4 separate regions of the Homo sapiens genome follow, and regions 1, 2 and 3 are each linked to region 4. The links are contacts of gene promoters, found by promoter capture Hi-C in human tissues and cell types (Jung and others, 2019). All regions are on one chromosome and are shown on one strand. Each heading gives the region's core, a stretch centred on a gene start or on the middle of the fragment in contact. The rest is flanking DNA. Distances are from core to core; before and after follow the strand shown. Region 1 overlaps FAM13C (family with sequence similarity 13 member C). Region 2 overlaps FAM13C (family with sequence similarity 13 member C). Region 3 has its middle 52 kb from the start of FAM13C. Region 4 holds the start of FAM13C (family with sequence similarity 13 member C).

Evidence for each region. Contacts are between HindIII fragments. The study calls those that stand out against the background at their distance.
Region 1: a fragment that was not itself captured here is called in contact with the fragment with the promoter of FAM13C in region 4 in 3 of the 25 tissues and cell types used here (bladder, hippocampus and pancreas).
Region 2: a fragment that was not itself captured here is called in contact with the fragment with the promoter of FAM13C in region 4 in 2 of the 25 tissues and cell types used here (adrenal gland and dorsolateral prefrontal cortex).
Region 3: a contact is called between a fragment that was not itself captured here and the fragment with the promoter of FAM13C in region 4, in 2 of the 25 tissues and cell types used here (bladder and heart right ventricle).

The regions. Positions count from the first base shown.
Region 1 is chr10:59,326,805-59,329,504 of GRCh38, forward strand. The region is part of intron 3 of FAM13C (family with sequence similarity 13 member C); the gene reads right to left. All of the region lies in intron 1 of LOC102724778 (a long non-coding RNA gene), which reads left to right. Among named protein-coding and RNA genes, the nearest start is that of FAM13C, 34 kb to the right of the region's middle. The HindIII fragment of the contact is 4,252 bases long and covers 1-2,700 here.
Region 2 is chr10:59,308,272-59,310,971 of GRCh38, forward strand. All of the region lies in intron 4 of FAM13C (family with sequence similarity 13 member C), which reads right to left. Among named protein-coding and RNA genes, the nearest start is that of FAM13C, 53 kb to the right of the region's middle. The HindIII fragment of the contact is 4,882 bases long and covers 1-2,700 here.
Region 3 is chr10:59,413,437-59,416,141 of GRCh38, forward strand. No RefSeq gene overlaps it. Among named protein-coding and RNA genes, the nearest start is that of FAM13C, 52 kb to the left of the region's middle. The HindIII fragment of the contact is 6,099 bases long and covers 1-2,705 here.
Region 4 is chr10:59,361,141-59,363,840 of GRCh38, forward strand. FAM13C (family with sequence similarity 13 member C) reads right to left here and starts at 1,409. Exons shown (of 14, transcript NM_198215.4): 1 at 1,259-1,409. The coding sequence starts at 1,320. It overlaps LOC124902428 (a long non-coding RNA gene), which reads left to right and starts at 759. Exons shown (of 2, transcript XR_007062148.1): 1 at 759-1,243; 2 at 1,928-2,374. The HindIII fragment of the contact is 7,624 bases long and covers 232-2,700 here.

The sequences.
Region 1 (2,700 bases), core at 28-2,527, 34 kb before region 4:
CAGACCTCTCTAGTCTGCCCTAGGTGAGTTCCTGACCCTCAGAAACCATGAAAGATAATATATGATTATTGCAATTTTAAGTTTTGTGGTTATTTGTTATGCAACAATAGATAACTAAAACACATTACCTTTCCTGTATTCTAAGATATCATCAATTATAAACCATCATTGGTTTGATTACATAAGTCTTTTAGGAAAAAAATAATGCCACATTAAATGCATCCATCAATTTTAAGAAACGTTCAAAAATGAGAAAGGTGAAATTTTGAACAGATGTGTGCATTGGCATTAAGGAACGACAGAGCATGCCCAGGACAGCCTGGCATGTAACAACACAAGACGTCCCGACCCAAGTACCTTACAGGGAATAGGGGAGGAAAACCCAAGCCTTAGTTGACCAGCTTTAAAAAATAATTTCATGTTTTCTCTTAAAGAAAGAAGACAGAAGAAATGGGGATATCATCTTATTGAATTAATAGAACAGTAGCTTTCAAAGGTCTTGTGCTGCCAGCTGTCATTTATTCATAAAGTTATAAAGGAAAGAGTACAAAACAAGAATAGTAGTACTCAATCAAATGTATTTGCCTCTATAAGAGATTTAGCCAGATGCATGAGAAGCCAAGGCTTACTTCCTTGGTAAGCCCATTTCTCTGCTCCAGTTGGACTCCACCACCTGGTGAAGGTTAACTAGGGCTGCCAAAGAAAGTCCTTAGAGTAAATAACATATTTGTGAAAGATTGAGAGTTAACATTTTGTCCCCACCCCCCCACCAAAAAAGGTGACAACATCAAGAAAGGAAATAAATAACACATTTGATTACCTTTGCCCATTTAAGCTTCATCACTCTGTTTAGAATCGGCTGTAACATTCGGCTCAAAAATTGTAGAACATTAAAGTAGGGTATGTATTCTGAAATAAATAAGATATATTTTTACCTAAAAAAACCCCACTATTATATACCAAGCACTTTTATAGTTGAGAGGGTTATAGAGAAGTGAATAAGACATTCTTGCCCCCAAAGAACTTTAAAATCTACTGTTTGACACAGACTGAAGGGTAAGAGAGCAGATTCTAACTTTTTACTTCTGTGTTAATGTGTCTGTCAAATGGTCAGATCCAAACTGACCAAGGGGACTGAGGGAAGAAGCCAAAATCCTCTGCTCCATGCTTGGTCTTTCTGCCACCTGGCCAAGCGTAGCCCAGATGGGCACCTGGAAGAAAAGGCATCCCACATCTTTTCCTGTTCCCAGCCATCTTCATCTACCCTCCACCTCACCCCTAGTATGTCCCAAGTCCACCTCAGTGGGGTGATTTGTTGGTTCTCTGCCAAATGCAGGGACCATCAAATTTACTACATTCTGAGATAGTTCATAAGAAAGCTGTCCATGAAGCAAACATAATTTAGGCTATTTATCTCATCCAGGTACAGAGGCTAGGAGAGTGTGCATGATAACAAAAGGAAAGCTATTAACTCAAGAGGCTCAAAACTCAAACTTAGTTAAGGAAAAATTAGCTGCCCCTAAACCAGAATGGTGAAATATGATATTTTGTTCTCATTGCAATTTTAGTGAGTTCAGCTGACTCTTGTAGCACTTGAGATCATCTAGTTTTGATCAAATGGCATGGCCATTGCTTCAGGCCCTTCCAAGTTCCTTTATTTGTACAAATCCATGGCCATCAAGAAAAACAAAACAAAACAAAACAAAACAATATTCCATTCTAATCCCACCATTCTAATCCCAGATCTTGCCCATCTTCTCTGTCTGAAAGTCAGAAATGTATCTTTGGGCCTCAAGGATGTACACATCCTGTATATCTTCCCTCCAGGATGTGGTCAATCAAAACATCAAATGTTCATCTTCTCATACTTGAGGTTTTCTCTGTGTCCACTCTCCCCAAATTGATAAAACTTTATTTTCTTCAACTACTGGATTAAATTTTAAATTAAATGGTTCTGTAGCTTAATCACTCTATTGTTAATGCCTTGCATTTATGAGAGTATTTCCCAAAATCTCTAATTAAGACATGATTAATATATCTGATAGCACTATAATTTGGAAAATCTTATATTTTCAGTTCTTAAGGTGAACAAGAGAAAGTGTTGTAAATCTACCCTATCCTACATCACCCAAGAGTCCCTTTTTTCTTAACCTTCACATATCTGTGAAAGTGACTTGATGTCCTTCTGAATAATTGGGGAACTTTAAAGATGTTTATACCCGGATAAAAGAAGCTATTGGACTATTACATTCATGTCGTAACTAGGGTAAAGAGCGTCCTGTACGAGTTGATTTAAATTTCCTTTCAAAAATGTGTGTCTATTATTTAAAATTTTCTGGCCCTTTAAGAAATAGGGAACCAAGAGAGCAGTTTCTTCAGATCTATTTTTAAAACATTTCTGGCCATCTTACTCATTATTTCAACAAAGAAATAAAATAAATCATGGGAAAACGCAGGCATAGGCTCAAAATCCACATATATCCATGAAGTAGGATGTCCTCTGATTCCATTTTTTTTTCTTTTTTTCTTTCTTTCTGGTTTTTTTTTTTTTTTTTTTTTTTTTTTTTTTTTTTGAGACAGAATCTTGCTCTGTCACTCAGGCTGGAGCGCAATGATACGATCTCGACTCACTGCAAATTCTGCGTCCCAGGTTCAAGCGATTCTCCTGCCTCAGCCTCCTGAATAGCTGGGATTACAGGT
Region 2 (2,700 bases), core at 163-2,662, 53 kb before region 4:
TAGTGATGAGCATGTGATATCTCCAACCATCACCACCACTACTACCACCATGACTATCACCACCATTCACCAACATCATCACCCACCACCACCACTACCACCACCACCATTACCACCACCATCACCACAACCACCACAACCACTGCCATCACCTCCACAATCACCATCATCACCATCACCATCACCATTGCCACCATCACTACCACCACTGCCACTACCATTGCCACCACCACTGCCACCACCCACCAGCATCACCCCCATCATCACCCCCACCACCACCACCAGCACCACCAACCACCATCACCACCACCAGCACCACCAACCAGCATCACCATCACCACCACCAGCACCACCATTGCCACTGCTGCCACCACTGTATAATTCAAAGTAAAAAATACTTCTCAACAGAGAAATGCAAAACTTAATTTTGTGCTGATATGAAAAGAGCTTTTCCCTGGATTCAAACTGCAAACTTGTGGATAGCCTATGACTACAAACTTGTGGATAGCCCACTGAAATACAACTTTTCTAAAAATGTTTGATGTTCCCACTTTGCTGGAACCCTAAAGCTCGTGCTGAGTCAGCCTGTAGGGTCATCTTCTAGTGGCCTCCTCGCAGGAGGTGTACTGGAGTTCAAAACAATAAACCCAACTAAGCATTAAGATATTTTTCTTGGCCTAAGGACAGTGTCAAACTGCAGGATGTGATAATTTGTGAAAACGCCACATTTTAGCTCACAGTTGTATATTTACACCAATGTTTGAACTATCTATAATTAAATTAGCAGAGGAAAGTGTTTCCTATTTCAGTGAAAAGCTTCCCCATCTTGCCAATGGCTCATGGAAGACAACGGACAGCTATCTAACGCTTTTCTTTCCCTTAAGCCCAATAACCAAGTTATTAACAAGCCTCTCAATTTCTTATCCCAAATCATGTTTGTGTCTGTCCCCTCCCCTCTATCTCTACCACTGCCATCTGGGGCCAAGCCACCAGCACCTCTCATCTGAACTACCTGAATGACAGTAGTTTCTCCCTGGTCTCCCTACTTCCCCTCTACCCTCCTCAGGCCACCGTTCACACAAGATCTTTCACTACCCTTCTGCACACTATACTTAAAATAAAACTCAAAATTCCGAGAGTACTGTATGACACCCTGAAGGATTTAGTATGTGCCCACTCCTCAACCTTAGCTTGCATCATTCTCCCTCTCTGAACTCCAGCTACACTGGCATTCTTTCCGTTTTGTGGATGCACCATGCTCCTTTCCAGCGCAGGCCTTCACATGTGCCTGTAATGCTGTTCCCTCTCCACTTTCTCTCCTAAGTAACTCATTCATACTTTAGATGCTAGATAGCTCCCAGTCAGGTCTCCCTTTCTTATATATGTTCTCACTGTATTCTGATCTTCTACTTTCTGCTATGCAGCAGGTCTCAGTTCTTAATCATGTATTTGTGTAATTATTTGATTGTTTCTTTCTCACGATGGTGAGCACTGTGGAGCAAGGACCATAGCAGCCTTGCTTAGCATTTTATCTCTAGGGCCAAGTCTGGCATATGACACACAGTAGGCACTCATATGTTTGTAAATAACGTATTCATCCTAGGGTTATGGGCAGCTGCCAATTCTTATATATTTCTGAGTGTGTAAAGTAATGATAACTGATGCTCCCTCTTCCACCTATAGCATGCTAGCAGAGCCTAGAGGATGGAATGACTCTCATTCCCATAACAAATGCATTTCTTCCCTGAAGAGATCTATGAAAGATTAATTAGTAGCTTTTGAACCCATGACCTAGAAAACCTGGGCAGAAAGAGTAAAAAGAGAGCATCCAACACACTTTTCAGAATACTTCACATAGAATCAGAGCCTTAGAACTGAGCAGTGCTGACTCCCATCACATCTTCAGAATTCAGGATATTCCACTGCATAAAAAATTGAGCCTCTCTATGAGAAGGCAATACTTGGGATACACTAATGTATACCCGGATGACTGCTGGCTGGCTGTATGACTGGTGTTTCCTGAAACTCTTTTGAAAACAAAAGGTATATCCCAAGAGGACAACCCTCTGAGCAAAACATGTTTTATATACAAACAATAGCTCTATATGCAGACACAGACAAGATGCCAATAAATTCCAGTAATATTATTAGAAACAATAACAGCCCTTAATACCAGTAAATAGAAAGTTCCTTTCTCTAGAGAGTCGAAGCCACATTGAAGACATTCTCTTATTGGTTCTTACCAAATGTCTGCTAAAGGACTGAGGTCAAATATTAAGCAGCCAACTTCAAAGACTAAAAAAAAACCAAGCCACAGTGTTCAAAATTATTCCCCGAGAGACTACTGAAAGAAAACAAAACTCGAAGTCCATGGATGTTCAGAAACTGACTTCCCAACCCATGTATCCACTTGTCCAGGCCAATGAACTCCCAAGGATGCTTCAGCTAGAAACAGAACACTGATCCCCAATGGTATACCCTCCCAGAAGCCAACTTCCCCAACCACCACCTCCCACCTTGTACTTCTCTGAAGATTAGAATCAGCCAGTATTATTAAAACAGAGATTCCTGGGCCACAACCCAAACCTACTTAATCAGAATTTCCAGAAAAGTAGGATGATGACATATAGTTAAGAAGCACTCTAGGGGATTCCTAATTGGGGAACGCTATCCTAAAGGTCCAAGTGCAACAGCCTGGGA
Region 3 (2,705 bases), core at 9-2,508, 52 kb after region 4:
CTCTGCTCTGGTTTCTCCCCATCTTTGTGGTTTTATCTACCTCTGGTCTTTGATGATGGTGATGTACAGATGGGGTTTTGATGTGGATGTCATTTCTGTTTATTAGTTTTCCTTCTAACAATCAGGACCCTCAGCTGCTGGTCTGTTGGAGTTTGCTGGAGGTCCACTCCAGACCCTGTTTGCCTGGGTATCACCAGCAGAGGCTGCAGAACAGCAAATGTTGCTGTCTGATCCTTCCTCTGGAAGCTTCATCTCAGAGGGGCACCCAGCTGTATGAGGTGTCAGTCAGCCCCTACTGGAAGGTGTCTCCCAGTTAGGCTACTCAGGGGTCAGGGACCCACTTGAGGAGGCAGTCTGTCCACTCTCAGATTTCAAACTCCATGCTGGGAGAACCACTACTCTCTTCAAAGCTGTCAGACAGGGACGTTTAAGTCTGCAGAAGTTTCTGCTGCCTTTTGTTCTGCTATGCCCTGCCCCCAGAGGTGGAGTCTGCAGAGGCATGTAGGCCTCCTTGAGCTGCCATGGGCTCTACCCAGTTCGAGCTTCCTGGTGGCTTTGTTTACCTACTCAAGCCTCAGCAATGGCAGATGCCCCTCCCTCAGCCTCGCTACTGCCTTGCAGTTCAATCTCAGACTGCTGTGCTAGCAGTGAGCGAGGCTCCATGGGTGTGGGACCCTCCAAGCCAGGCACAGAATATAATCTCCTGTGTGCCATTTGCTAAGGCCGTTGGAAAAGTGCAGTATTAGGGTGGGAGTGTCCCGATTTTCCAGGTACTGTCTGTCACGGCTTCCCTTTGCTAGGAAAGGGAATTCCCCGACGCTTTGTGCTTCCTGGGTGAGGCAATGCCCCACCCTGCTCCATGAGCTGTGCCCACTGTCAGACAAGCCCCAGTGAGATGAACCCAGTACCTCAGTTGGAAATGCAGATACCTCAGTTGGAAATGCAGAAATCACCCATCTTCTGTGTCACTCAGGCTGGGAGCTGCAGACTGGAGCTCTTCCTATTTGGCCATCTTGGAACCTCCACCAGTAGTTCTATTTTTAATTTTTTGAGGAACTTCCATTCTGTTTTTTATAATGACTGTAGTAATTTTCATTCTCACCAGTAGTGTATAAGAGTTTTCCTTGCTCCACATCTATGTCAGCATTCATTACTTTTTGTCTTTTTGATAGTAGCCATTCTAATTGAGGTGAAATGATATTTCATTGTGGTTTTTATTTGCATTTCCCTGATGGTTAGTGATGCTGAGCATTATTTTCAGAAACCTGTTAGCCACTCACATATTTCCTTTTGAGGAATGTCTATTCAGGTCTTTTGCTCAAGGAAAGAGAACAAGAGTCTCTGCCTGGTAATCCAGATAATTATTCTGGATCTTGTCTAAGGCCATGAAGGTAACACCACTATGAGTCTGCAAGAACTAGTGTTAGTGGGCTTTGTGTGCCCCCCTAAAGCAGATACACCTTACAGCACAATGCCCAAGTCCTTTCAAATACCTGGAAAGCCTTCCCAAGAAAGACAGGTACAAACAAGCCCAGAATGTGAAGACTATAATAAATACATAACTCTTCAATGCCCAGATACGGATGAACATCTGCAAGTATCAAGACAATCCAGGAAAAACATGACCTTACCAAATGAACTAAATAGGGCACCAGGGACAAAGCCTGGAGAAACAGAGCTATGTGACCTTTCAGATATAGAATTCAAAATAGCTATTTTGAGAAAACTCAAAGAAATTGAAGATAACACAGAGAATAAATTCAAAATTCTATCAGATTAATTTAACACAGAGATTCAAATAATTAAAGAGATTCAAGCAGAAATTCTGGAGTTGCAAAATGCAACCGGTATATTAAAGAATGCATCAGAGCCTTTTAACAGCAAGATTGATTAAGCAGAAGAAAGCACTAGTGAGCATAAAGACGGGCTATTTGAAAATACACAGAGGAGACAAAAGGAAAAAGAATAAAAAACAATGAAGCACACCTACAGGATCTAGAAAATAGCTTCAAAGGGGCAAATCTAAGCCTTCTTGGCCTTAAAGAAAAGGTAGAGTAAGAGATGGGGGCAGAAAGTTTATTCAAAGGGATAATAATAGAGAATATCCCAAATCTAGACAAAAATGTCAATATCCAAGTACAAGAAGGTTATAGAACACCAAGCAGATTTAACCCACAGAAGACTACCTCAAGGTGTTTAATAATCAAACCCCCAAAGATCAAGGATAAACAAAGGATCCTGAAGGCAGCAAGAGGAAAGAAACAAATCACATACAATGGAGCACCATTCACATACATCTGGCAGCAGACTCTTCAGTGGAACCCTTACAGGCCAAGAGAAGTTTGCATGCTATGTTTAAAGGGCTGCAGGAAAAAAAACTTTTACACTAGAATAGTATATCTGACAAAAATGTCTTTCAAATATAAAGGAGGAATAAAGACTTTCCCTAACAAACAAAAGCTGATGAATTTCATCAACCCCAGATATGTCCTACAAAAAATGCTAAAGGGAGTACTTCAATTAGAATGAAAAGGATATTAATGAACAATAAGAAATAATCTGAAGGTACAAAACTCAGTGGCAATAGTAAGTACACAGAAAAACACAGAATATTATAACACTGTAACTGTGGTATGTAAACTACTCCCATATTTGCAGAAGCACTAAATGATGAACCAAAGAAATAACTACAACTTTTCAATACA
Region 4 (2,700 bases), core at 159-2,658:
ACCAAGCAATCTTATAAACAGAATGTGGGTCCAAATGAGTATTTTACATTGCTTCTTCTAAAGTCAATCCTGTTTTTTTTTTTAAGTGACTCCACTTAAGTCTGCTCAAAACTGGACACTAAAGGAGCAGCACAGCAAAAGAGAGAAACAAAAGAATGTGGAAAACAAGAGGGCCTAGGAAGCACTGTAAACCTTATCCCTCCCTCACCAAGTCATTGTGATAGTGGCAGGACTTGGAAGCCAAAAGCAAAACATTTATTTGCTTTTTAGGGAATTTTAGCAAACAGCTCCCCAGTTAGTTAAGCCTTCTACATCAAACTCATAACATTTTTTAAATGTAGTTGAGGATACAACTTTACACATGCCTTTTTCCTGAAAAGATGTTTAGAGTGGCTTCTACAAAGGTCCCAGAAGTAAACATCATGAATTAGCCTAGAGAAAGAATGCTAGATGAAGTACATATTCATATATATATATGTATATATAAATTACATACAGTATTAGCAAAATACACTACCTGTTAATTTTTAACAAATATAGTATAATATTAGGAAAACATTAAGGAAGGGATGTCAAAAATTAAAACTATAGCATATAAATATCTTTAAAAAAATACTGTGCTTGCTGGTACGCTCCTTCATTCACACTCCTTCATTCCATGTTTGAAGGGTGTTAGTTGCCCTAATCAACAGCTTTAACCATAGGACTAGGTGACTCATTCGTCCCATAGTCACATCTCTGTAGTCAGAAGACAAACATGACAAAGGGCATGCACAAAAAGTTTACTCTGATATGCCTTAAAAATCTGTAGACAAGAGAGGGCCAAGATAAGTTTAGCCTGTTTACCACATGCTGGAATTCAGCTCATTTCACATCTATCTTCTATTGCTGTAAATGTATATAGTGTGCACTCCATGAAAACTGACACCAATGTTGGCAAAATACAACAAAGCTTCCTAACACATCAAATGGATTTTTAAAAATCTGAGCTCCAAGAACACATATCTTGGAGCACTGAGCTCCTGCAAGCAATCAGCTGGTTTTAATTTCTCTCCCGCAGCTGCTAAAATGCTGGTTTCAACCTGTAAAGATTTCTGGGCCCCACCAGTCAGCACGTCTCACGGTCTTCACAGCCCCAGATTCCGGGAGACAATGCATCTAAAACGAACAGCGGCTGGGAACGGTGGAGGATACCTTCACGATAGTTGCTTCCAGAGAAAGGCATGCAAGTCTAATTTTAATGGTAAGAATCACTTACTCTGTTACAGTGGTGCTGCTGAAGGAATTATCCTGAAGGCTGAAACAGAAACAAGAAAACATCAGCCAAGTCTGGCCGGGGAGCCGTCTCCCTGATTGCTCTCCGGGAGTTAGAGCACATACACAAACATGGCATTGCAAGGCAAGTCTCCGGGCTCGCCCGGCACGCTCGCTCTACCTTGGGCTGCTGTCTGCACATGCTCGTAACGACACCCCCAGCAGGGGCCCAGCGGCACGGGCGAACCACAAAGCCCGGCAGCCCGCGAGGCTGCGGGGACAGAGCTGGGCGGGGCGCGGCGGCGGGGCTGGGACCCCGGGATCCAGCGAGGAGCACCTGGAGAGTTACCACACGACCCCGACCTCGCCAGCCCAGGCGCCGCGTTTAATCTTGGGCTCTTTGTGCCAGCCACCCCCCGAGGCTGGCAATGAGAATGCCCCAGTGTTTCTGCCGAAGTGCTGAAATACCCGGGAGACTTGCTTTCTTCCACATGTCTCCTACCAATTTTACAGAGCTCACCCCAACCCCCCACACTCCCACCCCACCCCCAGGGATGGAGGCTCGCAGAGATTCATCCATCGTTCAGAAAAAGTCAGGAGAGAACAAGAAGGGGGAGGGGGATATTGCTGCTGTTTGGTGTTTTATTTTGTGTGTGTGTTTTTTGTTGCCTAGGAAAAAGAATAGGCTCTAAAGCAGGGCTGGCTGCATCACACCTGATCTGTCTAGAGCGCTCTTATTTCAGTCCCAGAGAGGAAGCGCCCAGCCCCGGACTACAGAGCTGTGAATGAACCCACGCAGGGCGAGTGGAGAATTTATTCCAGGGGTTAGCTGGTGATTAGGACACCGTGCAAGGGGTGGGGCTTGCTATGCCTAGAGCAGCCCGCTTGAGCTCAGCTCCCTAGCTAGCACCTTTACAAAGGATGGAGAGACGGAATCCGCAAACGCTATCCCTTTGAATAAAGGCAGCCTTGTTAGGGAAAGGAAAGACTGTCAGTCCCCCCACTGGCTTCTTTCCCTTGGGGATATTTGTTCTGCCCTCTTTGTATTGTTCATTTCTCCTGCCATGTTGACCTGGATATGGGATGTAGCATCTATTAAAGATTCTTATTTGAATTTGAATTATTTTATTTGAATTTTGAAATAAGATTCCCATCCCCCTTTTTAATCTTTCTACTCCCAGAAGCAGCTAGGATAGTGGTTTTTAGTCCAAACCTATGTAAGTTAATGAGTTAACATAACAACAAAAAACTCATAATTTTTCTAATTGGGCAATTAAAAACTTTACCAAAACTTGGAAATAATGGGGAAGAGCATGACCTTTCAATGTCAAACTGAGACATCGGTTAACAAGTCCACCCAGGGGCCAGTTAATTCTCCAGTTGTGTTTGGCTTTGCTCTTCACTATTGATTAGATTCCAGCCACAGTGAAGTTCTGTGGTCACTTG